4 separate regions of the Homo sapiens genome follow, and regions 1, 3 and 4 are each linked to region 2. The links are contacts of gene promoters, found by promoter capture Hi-C in human tissues and cell types (Jung and others, 2019). All regions are on one chromosome and are shown on one strand. Each heading gives the region's core, a stretch centred on a gene start or on the middle of the fragment in contact. The rest is flanking DNA. Distances are from core to core; before and after follow the strand shown. Region 1 overlaps AHRR (aryl hydrocarbon receptor repressor). Region 2 holds the start of LRRC14B (leucine rich repeat containing 14B). Region 3 holds the start of LOC105374602 (a long non-coding RNA gene). Region 4 overlaps LOC105374602 (a long non-coding RNA gene).

Region 1 (2,700 bases), core at 101-2,600, 230 kb before region 2:
TCCTGACTTTTTGTAAAGCATTTTGCACAATAAGCTCACACAAGCACAAAGCTGCTCTAATTTTTTCATGAGATATTTTGCATAAACTAGAGGCAATGCCTGATTTAATGGCATTTGGAACCAATTTCCTCATAATCAAGGCAAAACTTTTTTTTTTTAACTTCTCATGCTTGGGGAAAAATGACCAAGTGCCAAGAAAACAAAAAGTCCAATTAGCAAGTTCTGACCTGGAATCAAAGCTGCTCTGCACAGCACCTGCCCCAGTCCCCAAAGCCAAACCCTGGGGTGAGACCATCGAGCCATGGCTAAAGGCAGCGGCTCTGGGTGCATCTGGAGAACTCAGGGCAGCTCAAGATGCAGTAACTAGAGTTGACAGTGATTCTGAGCATGCAGAAGGCAGACCAAGCGGCCTTCTCTAGACTCGGGCCCTGCACATACAGACCAAGCCACCTTCTCCAGACTCAGGCCCTGCACATACAGACCAAGCCACCTTCTCTAAACTCGGGCCCTGCACATACGGACCAAGCCGCCTTCTCTAAACTCAGGCCCTGCACATACAGACCAAGCGGCCTTCTCTAGACTCGGGACCTGCACATATGGACCAAGCCGCCTTCTCCAGACTCAGGCCCTGCACATACAGACCAAGCCGCCTTCTCTAGACTCGGGCCCTGCACATACAGACCAAGCCACCTTCTCTAGACATGGGCCCTGCACATACACACCAAGCGGCCTTCTCCAGACTCAGGCCCTGCACATACAGACCCCGCCTTCTCTAAACTCGGGCCCTGCACATACGGACCAAGCGGCCTTCTCTAGACTCGGGCCCTGCACATACAGACCAAGCCACCTTCTCTAGACATGGGCCCTGCACATAAAGACCAAGCCGCCTTCTCTAGACTCGGGCCCTGCACATACAGACCAAGCGGCCTTCTCTAGACTCGGGCCCTGCACATAAAGACCAAGCCGCCTTCTCTAGACTCGGGACCTGCACATATGGACCAAGCCACCTTCTCTAGACATGGGCCCTGCACAAAAAGACCAAGCCGAAGCTGCTCTGTTTAAGTTGACAAAGTCATCGAGCCACACCGTCATGTCCGCCCATGTCCTGTACTGTGAGTGCTCCCCCGTTCACGGCACCCCACAGTGAAGGATGCACCAAACCCCAGCAAACGCCTACGGACCCAACGGACCCACTCCACTACTCTCCACACGTGTAAAGGAAGCATCCCACGGCAGCTCCATGGGATCTGAGCACAGAAGATGGAGATGAAGAGGATGCCGGGTGGCCACCCAGACGCTGATGCCATCTGTGGGAACGAGGGACCCACCAGGCGTCACTTCAGGTCCCCTCTCACAGGGCGCATCAGGAGATGACAGTGCCCCAACCACAGATACCAGGGCACACTCAGCAAAGCCTGTGGTCACGTGGTGTCAACAGCAGCCGCCTAGAGCGATGTCACTCTGTGGTAGGAGACGCCGTGCCGGGCACCAGGGCTTTTCCCAGCACTCCCCTGCTCAGTGGCCCCGTGGTCTGGCCACAGCCTGGCAGGCAAACACCGCTGCTGGCCATTGTGTGGGCACAGGAAATGAGGCTCAGAGCCATCAAGGTCGCTGCTGGGACAGCAGAGCTGTGTCTCCACCCTGCACTGCGTTCCCAACAGGGCAGTGGCCTGGACACCCCTTGGCAGCCATGTCCACTGCACGGTGTTCCCTCTCCCTGCACACAGCCATGTCCCCCTGCGTCCTCCACCAGGGCCAGCCCAGGCGTGCTGACGAGCTGCACCTTCACGTGGATGCTGGGGGAGAGGCCATCCCAAGGAGGCATCCAGTGTGCAGACACAGCCACGGTGCAGAAAACAAGCTCACTGCAATGGGCCCGGCAGTCACGTGGTCCTTGCAGTTCACAGGGAGACTGGCCTTGGGCTCAGGGGCAGGAGATTGAACTTAGAGGCGGACTAGAGGAGTTTTTTTGCAGAATCACCAGCAAGGCAGCAGCAATTTCAGCTGTGGGAAAAAATTCAAAAGCCCAGCTCTTATGGAAATTGGATAAAACTGTGCAGCCTCAGGGCCTGCGCAGACGTGAATTCTAATGACTTGTCAGGGACTAGTGTGGGCGAGCGGGGTGGTTCGTGGCTTCCACTGCCTGCTGCTCTGCACAGCCCCTAGGCCTCCCAGCCGACCAGGCAGACTCCGCCCCTAGGCCTCCCGCCCGACCAGGCAGATTCGGCCCCTAGGCCTCCCGCCCCACCAGGCAGATTCGGCCCCTAGGCCTCCCGCCCCACCAGGCAGATTCGGCCCCTAGGCCTCCCAGCAGACCAGGCAGATTCGGCCCCTAGGCCTCCCACCCGACCAGGCAGACTCGGCCCCTAGGCCTCCCACCCGACCAGGGAGACTCGGCCCCTAGGCCTCCCACCCGACCAGGCAGACTCGGCCCCTAGGCCTCCCGCCCGACCAGGCAGATTCGGCCCCTAGGCCTCCCACCCGACCAGGCAGACTCGGCCCCTAGGCCTCCCACCCGACCAGGGAGACTCGGCCCCTAGGCCTCCCGCCCCACCAGGCAGATTCGGCCCCTAGGCCTCCCACCCGACCAGGCAGATTTTTGCTTTAATCACCGTGTGCTGCCTCTGGCTCAGCGTGAATGCTGGCTCTGGGACCCTTTCCTCGTAGGCAGAGGTGCTGGGTAGTGCAGGGGTAGGGCTT
Region 2 (2,700 bases), core at 48-2,547:
GCTGTTTGAAGCCCCCAAGTGTTGGGGTGAGTCGTTCATCAACAATAGACAACTCCTCACACCACGTAGGCACTTCTGTTTCGTCTGTTTGGTAATTTCCGTATTCTCTTTTTTTAACTGGCATTCTCTCCACATCCCTAAGTCACACATGGCAGCCCGCTTCTTTCCTGGTGGCTCTGACTTTCGGTGCTCTTGCCCCTTGGCGGGGCCGCTGTCCTGTGGCTGTGGCCACACCCGGAGTGAGAGGCTGGAGGCCGTGTAGCCTCATGGCCTTGGACATGAGCAGGCCCCTGGACGATCTCTCCTTGCCTCTGCAGCCACCAGCCCGCCCTCAGTCCCCTCCCCAAGACTCACCCAAGCAGCGTCGGGATCTTCCCGGTCAGCGTGGAGAAGGCCACACTGAGCTCAGTGAGCTGCGCCATCTTGCTGAGCTCCCGGGCGATGGAGGCGAGGAGGGGGTCCTCGCCGTCGGGAGTGGAGGCGTAGGTGGGGGGTGCATCAAAGGCCTTGGTGGGCAGGGTGAGCGAGGCCAGCCGGGGGAAGCCCACCTGGGCCAGAAGCTGCTGCACGTGGCCCGCATGCAGCCGCACGTTGTGCACCACCTCCAGCTTGCGCAGGGCACCCGGGCCAGCCAGACGCAGCACGTGCAGGAGCTGGCTGGGGCTCAGGCTGTCCGCCCGGAACGAGGGGCAGTGCACCCGCAGAGGGGCCGGGCCCGCTGGCCTCAGAGCCTGCACCACCGCCTCGAAGTTGCCCTCAGTGACGAAGAGGTCGGCGAGGACCTCGACGGGGCGCCCGGCTGCGAGGGGCTCTGCCTGCAGCTCACAGCAGGTCCTGGCCAGCAGCTGGGTGCGGCCCCACCTGCCCAGCGCCCTCCCGCACGGGCACCGCTGCACCTGCACATCTCGGATGCCCGTGAGGTCAGCCACCCGCAGCCGCCGGCGGCTCCGGTCCTGCAGCACGTGGTCCGCGAGGCCGCGCACCAGCGCCTCCAGGCAGGCCCTGCAGGTTCTGTCGCGCAGGTCCTGGGGGTGGTCGGCACCAGGACCCAGCAGCGCTCCCAGCCGGAACTCCTCCAGGGGCCAGCGCCCCAGCACCGCGCGCGTCACCTCCGCCTGCTCCAGCAGGTAGCTGGCTTTGAACAGGAGTGGGTAGAGGTTGTGGGCCACGCTGTCCAGGCTCTGCCGGGCCACCTGGGGGTGGGACACCAGAGCTTCTGCAGAAATGAAGCGGAGTGACCTCATTGTGTCCATGGCCCGAGACAGGACCGCTCCCCACGACTTTCCCCAAGGCGTGTGCCCTTCACGCCTATCTTTAGCTGCAGCAGCTGTGAGCAGCCTGCCCTGGGGGCCCTGCCACGGGGCCTTATGATCATCTGACTGCTATTTTGGTCCTGGGACACCTGCGTCTGCCCGGCCTCGGGGCACGCAGCCGTTGGGAGCTGCTTGGCTCAGGCACCCAGCCGTTGGGAGCTGCTTGGCTCAGGCACCCAGCCGTTGGGAGCTGCTTGGCTCAGGCACCCAGCCGACACAGAAAGGCAGCCCGTGCCCATGGCAGGGCTGGGCAGAGAAGCCTGTGCTCCATGCTGCAGAAAGCCAGTCTTGGCAGGCGTTCGTGCTGGCGGCCGGTGAGGCCAGCGGGCAGGTCCTGTTTACCATCCAAGCGGGGCTACTGCCCAGCTCTGGGCACCTCCCCCACCAGTCAACGGGGCAGAGAACAGGCCAGGCCCCTGCGCCTCACTCGGTAACCAGTTCCCTTTCCACAGTGGCCTCTGGGGCCGCTCCCACACTTCGCCTCGCATCTGGGGTGAGACGAGTGGCCAGGAATGGAGCTGCTGTTTTGCCCCTTCCCTGTGCCTTTCCTTCTCCCCAAGGACCCGGCGGGGGTGGCTTCCCTACTTTCCATGGGAGAGAGTGGCTGGGAGAGGTGGAGCCTCCCTGATGGCCTCGGATGAGCCCCCAGCTCTCTCTGAGCTGCAGTGTCCTGTCTGCAACCCTGCCGCCTGTGCGGCAGGGAAAGCTGCAGGGAATGGGATACACCTGTGTTGGGGGGCGGTGCCTGATGGTTCACTCCCAGCACTGACCGTGTTGGACAGCTGATGGGTGCTGCACTCACCTCTCCCCGTGACACTGCCACTCAGGGCAGGGTCAGCACACATCGCTGCACACATCACTGCACACATCACTACAGGGCACCACGTGTCCATGGGCTTTGGAGGGTCACGGCCATGAGACAGAGGCTGAGGGAGACTGAGAGAAGTGAGTGACGGAGACTGAGACAGAGACAGAGGGACAGAAACTAAGAGGGAGAGAGACAGAGACTGAGGGAGAGAGAAAGGGAAACAGAAAGAGACAGACTGAGAGAGAGACAGAAAGGGAGAGACAGAGACTAAGAGAGAGAGAGAGAGACTGGTAGGCAGAGACAGAGACTGAGAAAGACAGACAGACGGGGAGACAGAAAGAGAAACAGCAGTGGGAGGGGGAAGGCTGCTGAGCAAGCTTGGAGGGTGCTGGTCATGGGTGCCCCACCAGCCTCCCTGTCTGACCCTCCCCAGTTTGTTCCCTGAGCCTGAGCAATGCCTCTCCCCGGGAGGCGACCCATGCAGAAGGGACTGTGCTCCGTTGTGGGGCCCAGGCACTGTCCAGCAGGCGGAGGTGTGTGTGAAGAGGTGGGTGGGCCCTGACCCCACCCTTCAGGGGT
Region 3 (2,700 bases), core at 7-2,506, 140 kb after region 2:
GGTGCGTGGGACGCCCGGCAGGACCCGAACCCGCGGCCCTGAGCCCAGCGCGGGTGGGATCCAGGACCGGGTCAGCGCGGCGTCCCCGCCCTTGCCCGCTCTCGCAGCAACACCCCCCAACACACACATACGTTTTGTTCCCGCGTCCTTGTCTCCACCCGGCGGTCCCGAACAAGTTCTGACCTCAGGTTAGGGGCGAGCCCTTCCCTCCGCCAGGTGCGGAGGCTGGAGATGAAGAAGCCGGGCCCCAGGAGCCTTTCCGGAGCACCCTCACCTGTGCGGGTGGAGTGGGGGCTGAGGTGGAGGCGCAGTAGTGCTAGGGCCAGGCTTCCTGGTGTTTAGGTAAACGCCATTTCCTTAAAAATAAACTTCCAGCCTGGGCAACGTAGTGAGACCCCCTTCTCTACAAAAAGTAAAAATAAAATTAGCCTGGCGCACCTGTGGTCCCAGCTACTCCGGAGGCTGAGGCGGGAGGATTGCTTGAGCCCGGGAGGCGGAGGCTGCAGTGAGCCGAGATCGCGCCACTGCCCTCCAGCCTGGGCGACAGGGCGAGACCCTGTCTCTAAAAAAGAAAGGAGAACAAACTTGAAACTCTGCTCCTCTGGGCAGTGAGCTTCGGGAAGCCCCTGTCGCCCTGACTGTCCCCCGCCACGCATAAAGGTCTATTTCTTGCCGAGGAAGCGTTTCAACTGCCTGCTTTTTTTTTTTTTTTTTTTTTTTTTTTTTTTTTTTGAGACTGAGTCTCATTCTGTTGCCCAGGCTGGAGTGCGGTGGCGCCGTCTCCACTCACTGCAACCTGTGCCTCCTGGTTCAAGCGATGCTCCTGCCTCAGCCTCCTGAGTAACTGGGATTACAGGCGTGTGCCACCAAGTCCAGCTAATTTTTGTATTCTTAGTAGAGACGGGGTTTCACTATGTTGGTCGGGCTGGTCTTGAATTCCTGACCTCAGGTGATCCGCCCACCTCGGCCTCCCAAAGTGCTGGGATTACAGGTGTGAGCCACCGTGCCCGGCCTCAACTGCTCTTTACGGACCTAAAGTCTCTCCATTGCGGTAGGAACTTAAGATTTGTTGAAAATAACATAGTTTACCTGATAACATAGTCCTGTTTGAGGTTGAAAGACGTTTATTAAGGCCATTTTTAATGCTTTTTTTTTCATTCTTGTTAGCAAAACACAGTGAAGAAGTAGAGACACTTAAATTTTCCAAACTCTTTGTCCTCACAAGTGGCTCCAAAACGAGCACATTTTCAGAAAGGAACTGAAAAAACATTTTTGGTTTTATACCTTCTCTTATTTCCAAAAAGGATTGGTCAGTTTCAAAACTGCCAAAGGCAACGTAAAATAAAATGTAACAGAAGGTCAGTGACCCGCCATGGAGTAGAGCGGGCCGTTTCCCCCTTGTCCTTTCAGAATCCACCCAGGGACAACTTGAACGGTAATAGCGGAGACTCGGCTGCAGCGAAAGGAAGGGCTGCCCACACCGCGGGTCTACACCCAGACGTGGGAGACGCAGCCGGGACCTGCTCCGGAGTCTGGGCTAGAGAGGAGGCGAAGAGGGAGAAACAGCGTGTGGACCAGGCGCCTCTGCGGGAACCCGGCAGGACAGAGGCGCGCAGGGGCCATGGGTGCGATAAGCGCTCACACGCCTCGCAGGAGCAGGGCGCACACCTGGAGCCCGCTCAGCACCACCCACCCCGAAAGATGGAAGATTTAGACAAGCCGGAAGGAACCGTTCACTCATACCTAGAAAGAGTGAACGAGGAACCAGCCCAGGAAGAAAAGAAAAAGAACAAGGAACCAAATACACAACAAAAATGGAAGTCAGAACAACACGTGATAAAACGTTGTCATTGAGTAGATGGAAATGACGACTTAACGTTAACGCATTGCGCATGGTTTAAGAGCCGTTTTGAAAACGGGAGATGATGAAAAGGAAGGAAGGATGAAAAAACAGACTTTCAGGAAAAGGGGGGAAGATATAAGATCAGTGGGGTGCTTACCATGGAGCCACAAAAAAACAACCAGAACTGCAGACCAGGGAGATGCCCCACCCAGGCCGGCCCCTCCGAGCCTCCGCGGGGATACTACGGCCCCGCCGGGACGGAGAGGGCGAGGCCGGGGGAGACTGCGTCCTGCAGCGCCGCGCCGCCACCGCCCATCTCTCGCCGCGGGGGCCCTGGATCGGGCAGGTCCCCGGGAACCGGGCAGCTGAGGTCGCCGGGTCAGCTTCCCCGGCCCAGTGCCCAGCGGGATGAAGACGCCGGGCCCCGGGCATCCCCAGGTTTGGAATTAGGATTAGGCGTTGGAGTTAACCGGACTCCGCGGAGTTCCGGGGACCCGGAGACAGCATGAGTCTCAGCGCGCAGTCAGCAGAGGCGGTCCTGGCGCCAGGGTAGGTGAGGGCACAAGCACCGAAGCGGGTGGGGCAGCAGCCGGGCGCCGGAGTGAGCGGGGGCACGGACGAGGGACAAGGTGGATAGAGGCGAGACCCGGCACCGGAGTGGGTGTGGAAATGAGCACCCGGGCGAGTGAGGGTTTGAGCTTAGCGTTAAAGTCAGGGTTAGGGTTGAAGTTAGGGTCACGGGTAAGTGTTAGGGTTACAGTTAGGGTTGGGGTTGGAATTGGGGTTAGGGTTTAGGGGTAGGGGTATGGGGTTAGGGTTAAAGTTAGAGTTAGGGAAGGGGTTAGGGTAGGGGTTCG
Region 4 (2,700 bases), core at 14-2,513, 160 kb after region 2:
TTACTAAATTTTATTATATGTAAATTAAACTCAATTAGACAATAAAAAATAAGCTTTTGATCCTGAAAAAATGCCTACATATATACAAACTACCTCTGAATCAAACTACTTTTTCAGAATTTCTAATTTAAATATTCAGAAATATGAATGATGATGATGAATTTTAACAAGGCTTGCATAATTCAAATCTGTTTTGGATGATGCCCGAGAGGCATATTAGCTGCTGGACTTATGTGGACTTCCTTATCTCCTTTGCCTATGAATAAATAGGAGGTTGAGGCAGAAACAAGATATGTAATTTATGTACAATGAAACTTTCTACTGCCCAGGAAATGAAGTTTTATATTGCCCAATGAATTGTGCCTGGCAGCATAATTCACTGCTTCACAATTGATCATTCTTTTTACCCTTAAAGCACCCTTGAAATGATTGACTCAACCATGAGAGAAGCACTGTAAATATTCTCAGATACAAACTCATAGTATTAGCTTCACAGAACAACTGCAGATGCAGGTAACTAAAAATCCAGCTCAATTTGACTTTAATAAGAAGGCAATTTATTGACTCAGATGGGTAGTTCAGAAGCAGGCCAGGCTTCAGGGTGAATCTGAGCACAGAAGTTCATGGATGCTACCCAGGACTCAGTCTCTTCCCAATTTTCTGCTCTGCCTTCAGTGAAGTCAGAATCAGTCTTAGCATGGCAAAATCTCCAGGAATAATTTCTGAGGCTGCATTCTTCATCAAAGAGGGAGCATGAACAAGCACTCTCTTAGTACAACTTGTATTTGACTCTAATTGGAACAACTCAGGCCCTTGCCCATCCCCAAGTCCATTAGGGGGACCAAGGGAGTGCTGTGTGGCACCTGGCATGAGCCTCAGTTGCGCACCCACCTTGGAACCAATAACTGTGACATAGGGTGAGACAGTGCTGGTTAGGTTAAGTCAACCAGCACCCACCCCATATTTCAAACCATGTGACTGAATAACTCAGGGCTCTGTTAGGAAGGAGAAAAGGGGATGCTCCTTGAATAGTATCCAACATTCAACTACAATTTGATTTGACAGGAACCTGGAGGCCTTGCCCATAGAAATCTCTCACAGTTGCTTGGAGAGAGCAGTCAGTACAAAAATCTTATGGCAGCAACCCTGTGGCCTCAAGGGCGCCATGGACCTGGTGTGGGGGGTGGGGAAGGGAGGGTGGGGAAGGGCTCAGTGTCTTCTGAAGATGAAGCAGAAGAATAGATGGCACTGCCTTAGGAGAGTGGAAAATGTTTAACCCCAAGAGATGCCTACAGAGGCAGCTGAGCCACACCACAGACTCCTAGAAGGGTTTGTGTTAGGGTTCTCAAGTGTCTAGGTAAGGAGAGGAGATGGTGAGGCAGACACAGAAGGGCCAGTTCAAAGCATATTGGGAAGAGAGATGACTACAGAGGCAGCTGAGCCACACCACAGACTCCTAGAAGGGCTTGTGTTAGGGTTTCCACATGTCTAGGTAAGCAGAGGAGATGGTGAGGCAGGCACAGAGGGTCGGTTCAAAGCACATTGGGAAGAGTGTGATCCCAAGACCCCTCAGTCCACACTGGCAGTCAAATACTCCTCCCTGACACTGGAAAAAGAAACAATTTATTTTCTTCAGACATTGAAACAGGACTTTTCTAAGCTCCAGGACACTGGGTAACGCTGCTTATGCAAAGAGAGTATTTAGTGAAAGCCAATTTACTGAGCAGGGAGATCCGCAGACTCTTTCTGCCTCTTGGCTCCCAGAATGCTGGGTCAGTCTTGCAGTCTTAGGAGACTGGCGACCTCTTTTTGGAGATTTGCAGCTACCAACATTTTCAGGGTTTCCTCAGGTCCAGGAGTGCCAGGCTCCTGTGCACTCTTCCTTTGGGGAAGCAAAGGAATTCTCCATCTGTGCGTACAGAATGCATTAATTATTTTTTTTATTTTCTATTTTCCTGATGCTCTAGCATCTGGTGTTTACTGGGAAAAGATTGCCTTTCCCAGGGCCAGCCAATTAAACTATCAATCCAAAACCCGCACTCTTAACCACCTACTTTATCTGGCTCTGATACTGTAAGAGACAATACCGCCCTTCCCTAATCACCCCAGGGCCAGGTACTAGGCAATTAGAGATGGCCCCTATGCCCCAGAGCCTGCTGAAGCTATTCAGGCTGGCCAGCCTAAGCCTGCCTGCCCTGCCTGGCCTTGCTGTCCCACGGAGATCACAGCAGAGGCTCCTGCCCATGCCTTCCCCTCTCCTGCCTGTGCCTGGGGCTTCCCTGTGCCTCCTATTTCTAGGGATCTGTGAGTATGAACATATTTCCACAGGACAGTCACTTCCATGTCTGCAGGTCTTAACATCCCCGATTAAAACAAATTCTGAGTACATTTTAAAACATAAGTCTTCCAACGGAATTTTTAAAACCTTTATATGGAGATTTAAAAACATATATGTAAATAAACAATGAATATAACAAACCCCTATATATCTATAACCCTTCAGAGCAACCAGAAACACATGGACAATTCTGTTCTGTCTATATTCCCAAACAAAATTCATACATTGTGATTAGCTGATGTGTTTTTAAGTCTATATAATTTATACATTTCCCCTGTATCTCCTATATATCATTTTCTGGTAATTTAGTTTTTGAAGAAGCTGCTTTGATTTTCCTGATTCATCTTCAAAGTTTAAAATAG

Evidence for each region. The method cuts DNA at HindIII sites, captures the fragments that hold promoters and counts their contacts. A contact is called where the count stands out against the background at its distance.
Region 1: a fragment that was not itself captured here is called in contact with the fragment with the promoter of LRRC14B in region 2 in 1 of the 25 tissues and cell types used here (spleen).
Region 3: a fragment that was not itself captured here is called in contact with the fragment with the promoter of LRRC14B in region 2 in 3 of the 25 tissues and cell types used here (IMR-90 fibroblasts, mesendoderm cells and thymus).
Region 4: a fragment that was not itself captured here is called in contact with the fragment with the promoter of LRRC14B in region 2 in 4 of the 25 tissues and cell types used here (IMR-90 fibroblasts, lymphoblastoid cells, mesenchymal stem cells and 1 more).

The regions. Positions count from the first base shown.
Region 1 is chr5:415,190-417,889 of GRCh38, reverse strand. The region is part of intron 5 of AHRR (aryl hydrocarbon receptor repressor); the gene reads right to left. The region is part of intron 7 of PDCD6-AHRR (PDCD6-AHRR readthrough (NMD candidate)); the gene reads right to left. Among named protein-coding and RNA genes, the nearest start is that of EXOC3-AS1, 27 kb to the left of the region's middle. RefSeq lists an enhancer at 2,201-2,700. The HindIII fragment of the contact is 5,097 bases long and covers 1-2,700 here.
Region 2 is chr5:190,092-192,791 of GRCh38, reverse strand. LRRC14B (leucine rich repeat containing 14B) reads right to left here and starts at 1,297. Exons shown (of 2, transcript NM_001080478.3): 1 at 355-1,297. The coding sequence starts at 1,253. LOC124900929 (a long non-coding RNA gene) reads left to right here. Exons shown (of 2, transcript XR_007058670.1): 2 at 1-64. RefSeq lists an enhancer at 1,583-1,632. The HindIII fragment of the contact is 15,773 bases long and covers 1-2,700 here.
Region 3 is chr5:50,518-53,217 of GRCh38, reverse strand. LOC105374602 (a long non-coding RNA gene) reads left to right here and starts at 2,215. Exons shown (of 3, transcript XR_001742541.1): 1 at 2,215-2,392. RefSeq lists an enhancer at 1,007-1,920. The HindIII fragment of the contact is 8,408 bases long and covers 1-2,700 here.
Region 4 is chr5:31,867-34,566 of GRCh38, reverse strand. The region is part of intron 2 of LOC105374602 (a long non-coding RNA gene); the gene reads left to right. Among named protein-coding and RNA genes, the nearest start is that of PLEKHG4B, 59 kb to the left of the region's middle. The HindIII fragment of the contact is 4,384 bases long and covers 1-2,700 here.